2 separate regions of the Homo sapiens genome follow, and region 1 is linked to region 2. Evidence: promoter capture Hi-C in 16 types of primary human blood cells and fetal thymus (Javierre and others, 2016). All regions are on one chromosome and are shown on one strand. Each heading gives the region's core, a stretch centred on a gene start or on the middle of the fragment in contact. The rest is flanking DNA. Distances are from core to core; before and after follow the strand shown. Region 1 has its middle 170 kb from the start of SH3BP4. Region 2 holds the start of TRPM8 (transient receptor potential cation channel subfamily M member 8).

Region 1 (5,631 bases), core at 530-3,029, 1.2 Mb before region 2:
GTATGTTCTTAGCTTACAAAATCTTTGTTTTTATCAAGAATGGATCTGGCCCCCCCTCCGAAATCTCTTATTTCATTTGTTCCTTTTATCTACTTGATTAAATTTATTAAGAGAATAATTGTGTTTCACTGTATGACAATACCATAATTTATATATTCATTCTACTATTCAAGGATATTTGCATTGTTTTGCATTTTTAGCTTTACATTTAATGTTGCTATGAATGCTTTTGCGCATATATTTTGGTATATTTGTGCATGGGCCATAAAATATGTGTATATTCAATTTTAATAAATAATACTAAATAGATTTCCAAAGTGCTTATATCAATTTACTTACACTGCCACTAATAGTGCACATGAATTACTCCACATCCTCATCAACACTTAATGAAGTCAGTCTTTTAATTTCAGCTCATCTAGAATGTATTTAAGAATTTAGCTAATAAAATGGTAGTCTCTTACTGTGTTTTAAATTTGTATTTCTCTGGTAGCTAATGAAGTCGAAGTTCTTCTTAGATTCTTTTGGAAAGTTCCTGATCAAATTTTTTACACATTTTCCTTTTCATTGATCTTGAATATAAGCCTTTGGTCAAGTACATGGTTCACAAATATAAACATTTATATTTGTTGGTATTGCATTTTTATTCTTTTAAAGGTCTATTTTGGTAAACAGAAATGCTTAATGTCAATCATCAATTTATGTTTAATTTATCAATTATGTTCATTAGGTTTAGTGTCTTTTTAAAAATCTATTTCAGAAATCGGTTCTTACATCAAAGTCATGAAGATATTCTCCATCTTTAGTATTTCTTTTAGTGCAAGTCTACTGGATACAAATTTTCTCAGCTTTCATTTGTCAAAAATTCCTTATTTTGCTTTATTTTCATTAATATTTTCAATGTTTATAAAATTTTAGTTTGGCTGATACCTAGCCCTTTAAAGATGTCATTCCACTTGCTCCCATGAGTATGTTGTACAGTCAGCTGTAAGCTTTATTCTTGATCCTTTGAAAGTAAAGTATTCCCACTATTCCCGCCTGCTTTTAAGATTTTCATTTTGTCTTTGGTTTTCAGCAGCTTGACTAAGATGTGCCTATTCTAGTTATCTTGGGGTTTGCATAGACTCTTGAACCTGTGGGTTGTTGTCTTTCATTATATTTTAAAACATATACTTAGCCATTCTGTCTTCAAATATTATTTATGCTCTTTTCCCTCTTCTCCTTTGGGGACACAATATTCTGTATATGTACACAATATTCTGTACTGTTCATTCCATTATTTTTCTCTCTTTGCTTCAGTTTGAATAAATTCTATTCCTCCCCATCTTCTGTTATGTCCAGTGTACTGTTAAATTCATCTAATGAATTCTTCATTTCAAATATTGTATTTTTCAGTTCTAGACCGCCCAGTTGCTTTGTTCATATATATTCAATTATGTTGAAATTCTCTATATTTTCTCTTGTTTTTCCATGCCATCCTTTATTTTCTTGAATGGCTAATCAATTTTTAAAATTTCTCTTTGATAACTCCAATATCTAAATCACCTGTGAGACTATATATAATGTTTACATTTTTCTTAACGTTTGTTTCTCTTGGTCCTGTCTTTTTTACCATAACCTTTAATTTTTATATTTTATTTTGCTCATTGTAGATAAAAATTGTAGAGGCTCCGATAATGATGTTTTTCTTCAAAGAAAGTTTTTTTCTTCCTGTCAGGCAGTTCTCTATCAGTGAATCACCTTGGGTCCCATGGAGGCTTGATTTTCAGCTTTGTTAGAGGTGGTCTCTATTCCTCATGCAACGATTTAAAAAAATTCCCACAGGGAAAACAACCAGGGTTAATGTAGACATTATCTTGTGTGAGCACTATTCGCAATAGCAAAGACCTGGAACCAACCCAAATGTCCAACAATGATAGACTGGATTAAGAAAGTGTGGCACATACACACCATGGAATACTATGCAGCCATAAAAAATGATGAGTTCATGTCCTTTGTAGGGACATGGATGAAGCTGGAAACTATCATTATCAGCAAACTATTGCAAGGACAAAAAACCAAACATCGCATGTTCTCACTCATAGGTGGGAATTGAACAATGAGAACACATGGACACAGGAAGGGGAACATCACACACCGGGGCCTGTTGTGGAGTGGGGGGAGGGGGGAGGGATAGCATTAGGAGATATACCTAATGTAAATGACAAGTTAATGGGTGCAGCACACCAACATGGCACATGTATACATATGTAACAAACCTGCACGTTGTGCACATGTACCCTAGAACTTAAAGTATAATAAAAAAAAGAGAGAAAAAAAAAGAATACCAGAAAAGAAAAAAAAGAAATTATCTTGTGTGCTTCCCTTCTCTCACTCTCACAATTGTGCCTTTCAGTACTGTCTACATTAGTTGCTGCCCACTGCTTCACACAGTCATTTTGTACATTTTATTCAGCTTTTATAGGATTTTTTCTTGGCATGAAAGTTAGTCCAATTTAAGTCACTCCATTATGTCTGAAAGCAGACACTTGATTTGTCTCAATTAGAGATATTTTACAAAGCTTTTATGGCCTCACTTTTTACATGCCTGATTGGAATATAGAATGTTGGCGTTGTGAGTATGTGCGTGTGTATTTGTATATACACATACTTCTACTGCTTTCATGCTTCTGTTAATTACTCCTTGTATTTCAGTTTTTGCTTTATGTATTTTTAAAGCTGTAGATGGCACTTTCTATAAATTTAAATGTCCAATTTTGTCTCAAGTATTTTTTCTAGCCATTGCTGTCATAAAATTTCTTTCTCTCGCTAGTAGTTTGGTAGCCTGGAAAAAATAGGAGTGGAGAAACTCCAGAGACCATAATAGCAGGGAGAGTTACCACCTTACCACTTTGTTTCTTATCGTCTTTGCCAAACCATCCAAACATTTATCTGTTTTGTTCACCGTTGCCTGTCATGCTTTCCATATAGAATAAACTTTTAATGTTATTTAATTGTAACTTCTCTTTTAATCAGCAGTCTATTGTGGTTTTGTATTCTAATAGAAGATGGAAGCCTTTGCCTTTTAATAAATAGCACTTATTACGTGTCAGATTTTATGCTTTTTTTTTCAGTCACCTTGATATTTCTTTTTTGTTATTCCATTTACTCTAGGAAACTGTGATTCACTTCCCCATGTAAAACTGATCCCCAGGCATTCAATCTATTCCTTAGTCGTTAGTGGTTGCCCACTAAGTTTCAAGCGAGGAGACAGCTTCCTGACTTTCAATCCATTAATACATTTTGATCACAGTCCCACCACTTAACTATCTTTGTCATCTCAGGTAAGGTCCTCAGTTTTGTCACCTCTAGAACAAATCAATTAAACAAAATGATTTGTTCTCTACAAGTATAAAGGTTTAAAAGATAGTATTCCACTAGGCTTTTTTGCTTATTTTCTTAATAAAAACACCCCAAATATTTCTAAAGCAGCAGGCTTCTTAGCTTTCTCTGAAATTACTTCAGGCAAAGGCACTATTCAATTATGCTTATCAGCTCAGACTGATGGGCTATATGTCTAAAATTGGCCCATAAAGGTAAAAGCATTATTAATTAATACATGAAAGCTTAGGAAATAAAGTACTTTGGAAAATCTATGAATTTTCATTTGAATAACATTACAAAAGAATTTAAGTTGCAAGACCATATACAACATCATAAGTTAGGGAGGAAAATAAAGAATAAAAAGAAATTTCAGATACAGAACCAATGGAGATGGAATTACTAGTTTGGGATGAACGGACTGGAAATAAACAAGCTACTGTTTCCTTCCTCGTCTTTTCACAATCCGCTGCAATGGATTCAGAAAAAGAAAGATTGTAATTGTTACAGCCTGTTTATTTCCACCAGGGGGAGGTATAGTATTGCAAATAAAGTTAAATTATTTAACAAACAGAGTAATAAAATAGCTATTGACTGAAAACAGGCTTTTTTTTTCTGGTTTTGCAGAAAGAAGGTAGGGAAGAGAGAGTTCTAAGACTGTGTGAATTAACCTTTCATGCTTAATTCCTGTACCATTTGATAAGGAGAAGAGAAACTCCTGTGTAGGAATTCAATAAAATTTGTCCTTCTCCAGAAAAAACTTCATACTATAATTTTGAAAAAAATAAAATATATATTGACATAAACTTCACCTTTGTATTAACTCTTCCTAAGATATATGTCATTTTCAATGAAAATCTATGAAACCTTTGTCAAAATTGACCTGGAATATGAGTGAAATGATAATAATTGTGGGTTTTACAAATTAATTTGAAATAATTTAGAATGTATCAAGCACTGGTCGATGAGGGAAGGATATAAACAACACACAACTAAGGGCTGCTGCCCAGGAGGCACCAACAATTAAAGGCTGAGATCGTGGTAAGCAGATCCAAGGAATGAAAGGAAAAAAAAGAAGGTGTTTGAAACAAACTCTTGGAGGCCCCAGAGTCTGCAGTGAACACAAAAACTGCAGGGGCTGGAAGCAGAGGAGCAGGGGCAAGTCGTGGGGGAGAGGATGGCTTGGCCTGCAGGATGGGAGCATCGGGAAGGACCACGGGGTGAGAGAGGCAGAGCTTCACTTTCAGGAAAAGTGGGAGCTAAGGCATGGCTGGAGAGGTGGCTTCGCATTATGGATGACCTTGAGTGCAGAGCCAAAGATGAGAGATGTGGCCAGATGAGGCACGATGACAGCAGCATCAGGTGGGGGTGTGCGGGTGGAAGGGGACTGAGCTGAATGTCCCTGAGTCTCAGACCAGAGAACCAGGCTCAGCCAATACTTTCTCATGCTCACATCTCTGGTCAAGTCACAGAAGGACTCACTTCCACCACCTCCTCTATGCTGCAAACGAAATGCCACCCACACGGTACCCTTCTTTGTTTGAGTTATGTAAATTAAAAATAGTGTGATATAGGAAAGATTAATAAAATCTCACTCCAAATGAGATGGATCTTCTCCAAACTAGGAAGAAGAATCACTGAGAATTGCATACTGTAATTTCAAAGCTTGCAAGCAGAGTCCATTCTAGCTTGTCTTTATGCTATTGTCATATGGCAGGAATAGTTCCACTGTGTACAGAAATTCCTACCCATCCTTTAAAAAATTATATGAATATTTTAAAATTTCAAAGCCGCTTGCAAGCTTTGAAATTACAGTATGCTATTCTTGGTGATTTTTTTTCTTAGTTTGGAGAGAATCCATGTCATTTGGAGTGAGATTTCATGAATCTTTCCTATATCAAATTTACATAGCTCAATATAAAACAATAGACTTTCAAAAACAGATGCGTCATTAATTATCATTCAGCTGATTTTCTCTGCCATGTGAAATCCAAATATATCTCAATGGTCCACGTGGCCCATTCTCACCATGGTGTCATCCAAAGCATGCGAAGTAACTGTAATGCCAATCACAGTCATGTCTCTAAGAAAGTTAAATGACATATATTTCACACACGACAGTAATCCTTTTAAAATTCCTTTTCTTCTTTTCTTTTTTCTCCCTCTCTACAAGCCCCTAAACTTTTCTGAAGCCTACCCATTTGCTTTTTCTGTTTCTTCTCTGCTTTGCTTTTTCTGCGTTCTAAGTCAGCTTAGCCTTTCTACTTTCTT
Region 2 (5,606 bases), core at 496-2,995:
TCAAATCAGTCCTAAAGTGTCATTTTCAATCAGGATTGTCTAGTTCTAAGTCTCTTTCTGATTAAAAAAAAAATGGGGTGGGGGGAGAAACAAGATGTTTTCCTTTGCACACTGAATGAGAGAGGAAAAACTTGTTCATACTCTAAGGAAAATGCTCCAAAGGGCCCCACACCAAACCCCAGCCATCTCCACTCTTTGAGCCATCAATTATTCATGAAAATGGTGAGTATAACACTTGCAGAAGCTTCAAATATAAATGACACCATCCAGAGAGATCTCCTCCACTCTTATTTTGGCAGGGGCATGGCAGGGGTGCATACAAGGGTTACAATACCTGAAAAGGTCACTAGGCATCTGTGCCTCCATGTCTCAGTCACCACCAGGAGAGAGCTGAGATTTATTTTGTTGTAGGCATTATCCTGTTTTTCTAATTGCCTCTATCAGCCAAATTTTTTTCAGTTTGAATAGATGGATGAAAACTAGGAAAATAGCAAAAGCCAGTGGAGGCTCCCGAAGTCATTGACCCCAAGGTATCCTGCTCCAAAAAGTAGAAGTGAGAAACAGGAGGTAGATACAGGCAGCAGGTGATGCTCCAAGATGCTATTTGCTGAGACCCTCTTAGAATAAGAGGAAAAGCAGGGGTCCCTATGCAGCCTGGACCCCTACTGTCTTCACAGGTGCCAAGAATGATATCAGTTCTTAGGCAAAACAAAGATAGTGATAATTATTATTATAAATTGTAATGTAATTATAATTTATAATGTAATTATATTATTTCTATAACAATTATATTATTTGTAATATAATTATAAATATCTTATTAATAAATAATAATAAACAGCTTTTTTCCAAATTATAAATAAATATGCATCCAAAGTCACAACCTTGGAAGTAAGTCCTTTGCACTGTCAAGATTTTGACAAGCTAAAACTTCTCTCATGATCAGTATCTTTGTATTAGCACATATAGAATAGTCTTAAGGAATAACCATTTCCTTATGTTCAGCTCAAGAATCCTAACACTGAAAAAGTCAGCACTGGCAATAATGGATTGAAAATTAAATGGAAATAAAACCTTTAATTATTCATCCAGCCCTTCAGTGTTTCTCTCTTGCTTATAAATAATACAAATGATGAGCCTGTTTCAACAGGCTGGAAGAACGGAAGGAAACACAGTATGTAAAAACAAGCTAAATATACCCGCTCCTTTCATTATCAAAGAATATTTACTATTTGAATGCATTATTTCTTGATGTTAATTTACATTTCACCATAGTCTTGATTCAAGAAAAAACTTGTTTTATTATGTTCCCAATAGGATTGCTTCAGATAGTCAGTTGCAGAGTTCAGATGCCAGTGAATTTTTCATTAAAGCTCATTTAGGGAGTTTCTAACTCCTTCAATCAGAAACAGAAAACTGTAATTATATTTAAAGTCATTCAAAAATTCAGCAAATAATTCTACATTTCTAAATAAATCTAAGTGAGGATTAGATATATCTGTGAACCCGCATTTGCTTATGCCCACAACACTTTGAGGAATTTAAATTTTTGTCTTCCTTTAGTTTCAAATCTTCATAGAAAAACTAAATGATGCCCCTCCCAGAGACACAAACTCGTACTATTCTACAAGTTACAGCAATGGCAACATTTAAGGAGAAGCAAAAAGCAAAAGTTGATGACATACCCTAAGTGACGGTTTTTGTCAAGCAGGATTTTCTTTCACCCAAGGATCCTGCTGGTCTCTCCCCACAGGAGGAGGAAAGCTTTTATAACTGGAATCTTCTTAGCCCCGCCTTCTTCTCTGAGGTTCTTTTAAGCAGAGGAACAAAAAACTTAAGCCGCTGAAATTGCAAGAAGACTCCTAAAGCCTCCAAGCATAGCAGCAATTTAGCAGTGGAATACGAGTAGGGAATGGATAATTAGTGAACATGGTATTTTAAATGCTAATAAAGAAATGATACCAAATTCCTGCTCTTAGCTTGACAATAACACCATAGTATGAAATCATACTAATACTTAATTTCTGCAATTAATGGCACATTTTAAAAACCACAAATAAAATGGGAAATGCTCATTATAGAAAGTGATGACAAGATTAATTAATAAATTAAAAGCTCTTAATTAAGATTAGGAAAAAAATTATTAAATAGAGGAAATTTAACCAACATTGCTTTTTTGCAGATTTTGTGAACTTTCCTCATACCAACTAAATGCAGTATTGGGCCAGGCAAGAGGGCATCATGGAGGTGAGCAAATCCAGCTTCATTAATTTACAGCTATTTCCTGTCCCCTTTAAACTACACTTTGGAAGAGCTCTCCTCGAAGAAATAAGTAACAATTGTCAGTGGGCAACTTTCGGTCATTTTACTTAAATCACGTGCCACAAACATAACAGTTATATTATAACTAATGTTCCTCTGTTTTGGCCATTATTTCTATTTTATTTTCATATGAAGCATATGTCATAGAGAAATACAAATAGGATAGTGTATTTCAGGAACTGATTGCACAAGACATACACTTGCAAAAAGGTTAGAGATGAAAGAGAAGGAGTGTGAAGGGGTTTTTTGCAAAGGCAGAGAGATTTGAGCAAGGTCTGAAAGGAAGGATAGGGTTGTAGTGATAACTCCTGCAGAAAGCATGTTCAATTCAAGAAGAAAACCCCCTTAACAAAGAGAGACAAAAGACTCCAGACAGAGGTCTCAAACTCAAATATTCCAAGGCTCAGACAGGTCATAAAGATGAAGGGAGCAGCCAAGTGTTAGGTAGTAAGTAGGGAAGGGTGGGGGCTGTGGAAAACTGGAAATGATAGATTTGAATGAGGACCCGTGAGAGAAGAGATCCAGCTAGAAATAGAGAGAGAGAATCAGAGAAATCTCAGAATTACTCTAAATATGGGTCCTAGGACTAAAAACTCCCATACCCAGCATGGTCCCCAAGCACATATATAGCACTGCACAGGGGAGCAAGTCCATCTGAGGAGCGGAGCAGCAAAATGAGCTTTTTAGCTGTTAGAAATATTGAGCCAGCTGGGTGCAGTGGCTCATGCCTGTAATCCCAGCACTTTGGGAGGCTGAGGCGGGCCGATTGCTTGATGTCAGGGGTTCAAGACCAGCCTGGGCAACATGGCAAAACCCTGTCTCTACTAAAAATACAAAAATTAGCCAGGTGTGGTGGCACGTGCCTGTAATCCCAGCTACTCAGGAGGCTGAGACATGAGAATCCCTTGAACCTGGGAGGTGGAGGTTGCAGTGAGCCGAGATCATGCCACTGCACTCCAACCTGGGTGACAGAGTGAGATTCTGTCTCAAGAAAAGAGAGAGAGAGAGAGAGAGAGAGAGAGAGAGAGAGAGAGAAATATTGAGCCAATTAATTAAGCTCATGTGGACTTCTCTCATTCATTTTCTGGTTATTAAGCAAGTCTTTTGTTCTATCTCAATTTTCATTGTAAATCCAAACTTGTTTTATCCACAGCAGATAATGTATGATCTGGCCTGAACAAGTTGTATTCAAATATCTTTAGCAAGTCCTTAAAATCATACGTGAATGGATCCTTGCTGTAAGTAAGCATCCTCATGAAATGGGAGCGAGAGAGATGGAGATAGAGAGATATAAGTAGAGGTGTACATATATAATGTAAATATTTACCATTTCATCCAAGACGCAACAAAATGCCCAATTCATCTAGCAAGATAGATAGAAATTGTTTTGGTTTTTTTTTTAAGATGCTGGATTGTTGAACTATCTTTTAATGCCAGAAGGTGGCTGCCCTGAGCAACCTCAGTCACACACAGACGTTTTTCAGCCACTTACTCCTCAAAGCAGGTTTCAAAGGTGAATTAACAGCACTGTCCCTGCTTGTCCCTGAACACCTTCCTCCCCCACTAAGATAAGCAGAGCCATTCTGCATACTTCCAGCTAGATATGCAGACTCAGACTCTCAGCTTGGCTTCCCTATTTTTTGTGCCATGAGAAAACATTAAAACTGAACAAACTGTAGGTGGATGATGATGATGGTTACAGAGCAATGTGAATGCATTGATGCCACTGACTCTGCACTGCACTCTCTGGCTGAGTTTGCTGTACTGGAGCTGGTGGAAGGGACAAGGCTCTCTGGTCAGTGTGGAAGGCCTCCCACCCCAGGCATTCCATGAAGAGTCTTCCCCCATGAAGAGTCCTGTGGAGGCTGCACCGCAGCCACCCATGAGCCTGCCTCCCTCTCTTGACTGTATGCAGGAAGCTGGAGTTCTGGTTGGGTCCTGATCTTACCTTCTTGGCAGGAGCTCAGGCCTCCCCCTGAGGCCTTGATGAGGAGAGAAGCCTCAGGTACTAGTTGAGGGTCCAGGGGCCACTGGCTCACACTGCAAAGAAGAGGCTGCTTCCTACTACTAGAAAAAGGAGGACCGGCAGGGCTCATTCTGCTCCTCTCACTAAATCTTAGCCCTAGCCAAGTGTAGAAGAGAATTTGACACACTGGTAGCAACTGATGGAGGTGGGCACATACTCCCAAGTTAGAACTCTGGTCACTCAAGGACATCAGGTGTCTTTTACAATAAGCCTTGTACAGGAGGCACAGACACTCCCTGACACTAACTCCTGAGAAGAGCAGATTGCAGCTGATGAACACACAACTGGGAGGCACATCAAGTCATACATCCTTCCTCCCATTGTGCAAAGGGTGCAGTGGGTGCTACCCATAACCCTGTCTCTTGGCCTCTCCTGGTAAGAGACACAAGATCTCACCTTTTCCAGGAGAATTAACAACTTACCCTTTACTTCTGCAGGCTCCACGTCTTCTGTCCACCTGCATCCTCCAACCATCCAGCCACTGTTTTATAAACTTTAATATAGGTGTAGGTCATCAGGAAGAAGAAAGGTTACCATGGCACCAGAGGCGCAAATATGCAATGAATCTGTTGCCAAGACCCTGGTCCTTCCCAGTGAGTGTATTCAGCCTAACACCATGGGCTGACCACGCCAGCTCCTGGCATATCGAATGCTAAGAAAGCTCTGAGGGCAGTAAGTATAGGGCATCTGCTCCACCACAGTGGACTGGCTGAGGAAGCCTGCACACAGTGCTAGAACATTGCTTTCATGAGCAACACAGGCAGGTCCCAAAGCATAGCCATGGCCCAGGAGGAGGCTTGTGGCACCTCATCCACACAAAGCCCTTGAGTTCTCCAGTACATGTGCACAGCCCTTGTATCCAGCCTCTGAGCTACTCCCTCCCATGCCACAACACCCTCTAGGCCTCTCAGTGGCCCAGGCCTCCCTCACTGTTTGTTTGTTTTAGTCCCATAACTGCAGCTCCAACCCTTTTCCTGGCTGTCTTCAAAAATTACCTTGCTCTCAGACTACAGCCTTCAGTTCACCATCTCTGTTCTCTTTAATATTCTGTGACCTATACACTGACAGTCAAAAGGAAGGCAGATCCTTGGCTACACTTCCTATGTCAACAGCATGGCTGCTTCACTACCTCACCAACTCAACATTGCTTATGACTTAGGCAACTCATCCATCAAGAACACACGGTTCCATAGAAACTGTGGCCTGTACCTCAACTTCTCTGATATAATTTTGAGTCTGGACAAGTTTCTAGCTGATA

The links. Contacts are between HindIII fragments. The CHiCAGO score rates a contact against its expected background, and 5 or more counts as called.
Region 1: a contact is called between a fragment that was not itself captured here and the fragment with the promoter of TRPM8 in region 2, in 1 of 17 cell types (M1 macrophages). The highest score is 5.1, in M1 macrophages.

Annotation. Positions count from the first base shown.
Region 1 is chr2:235,115,351-235,120,981 of GRCh38, reverse strand. No RefSeq gene overlaps it. Among named protein-coding and RNA genes, the nearest start is that of SH3BP4, 170 kb to the right of the region's middle. The HindIII fragment of the contact is 1,569 bases long and covers 995-2,563 here.
Region 2 is chr2:233,913,512-233,919,117 of GRCh38, reverse strand. TRPM8 (transient receptor potential cation channel subfamily M member 8) reads right to left here and starts at 1,745. Exons shown (of 26, transcript NM_024080.5): 1 at 1,686-1,745. The HindIII fragment of the contact is 1,520 bases long and covers 247-1,766 here.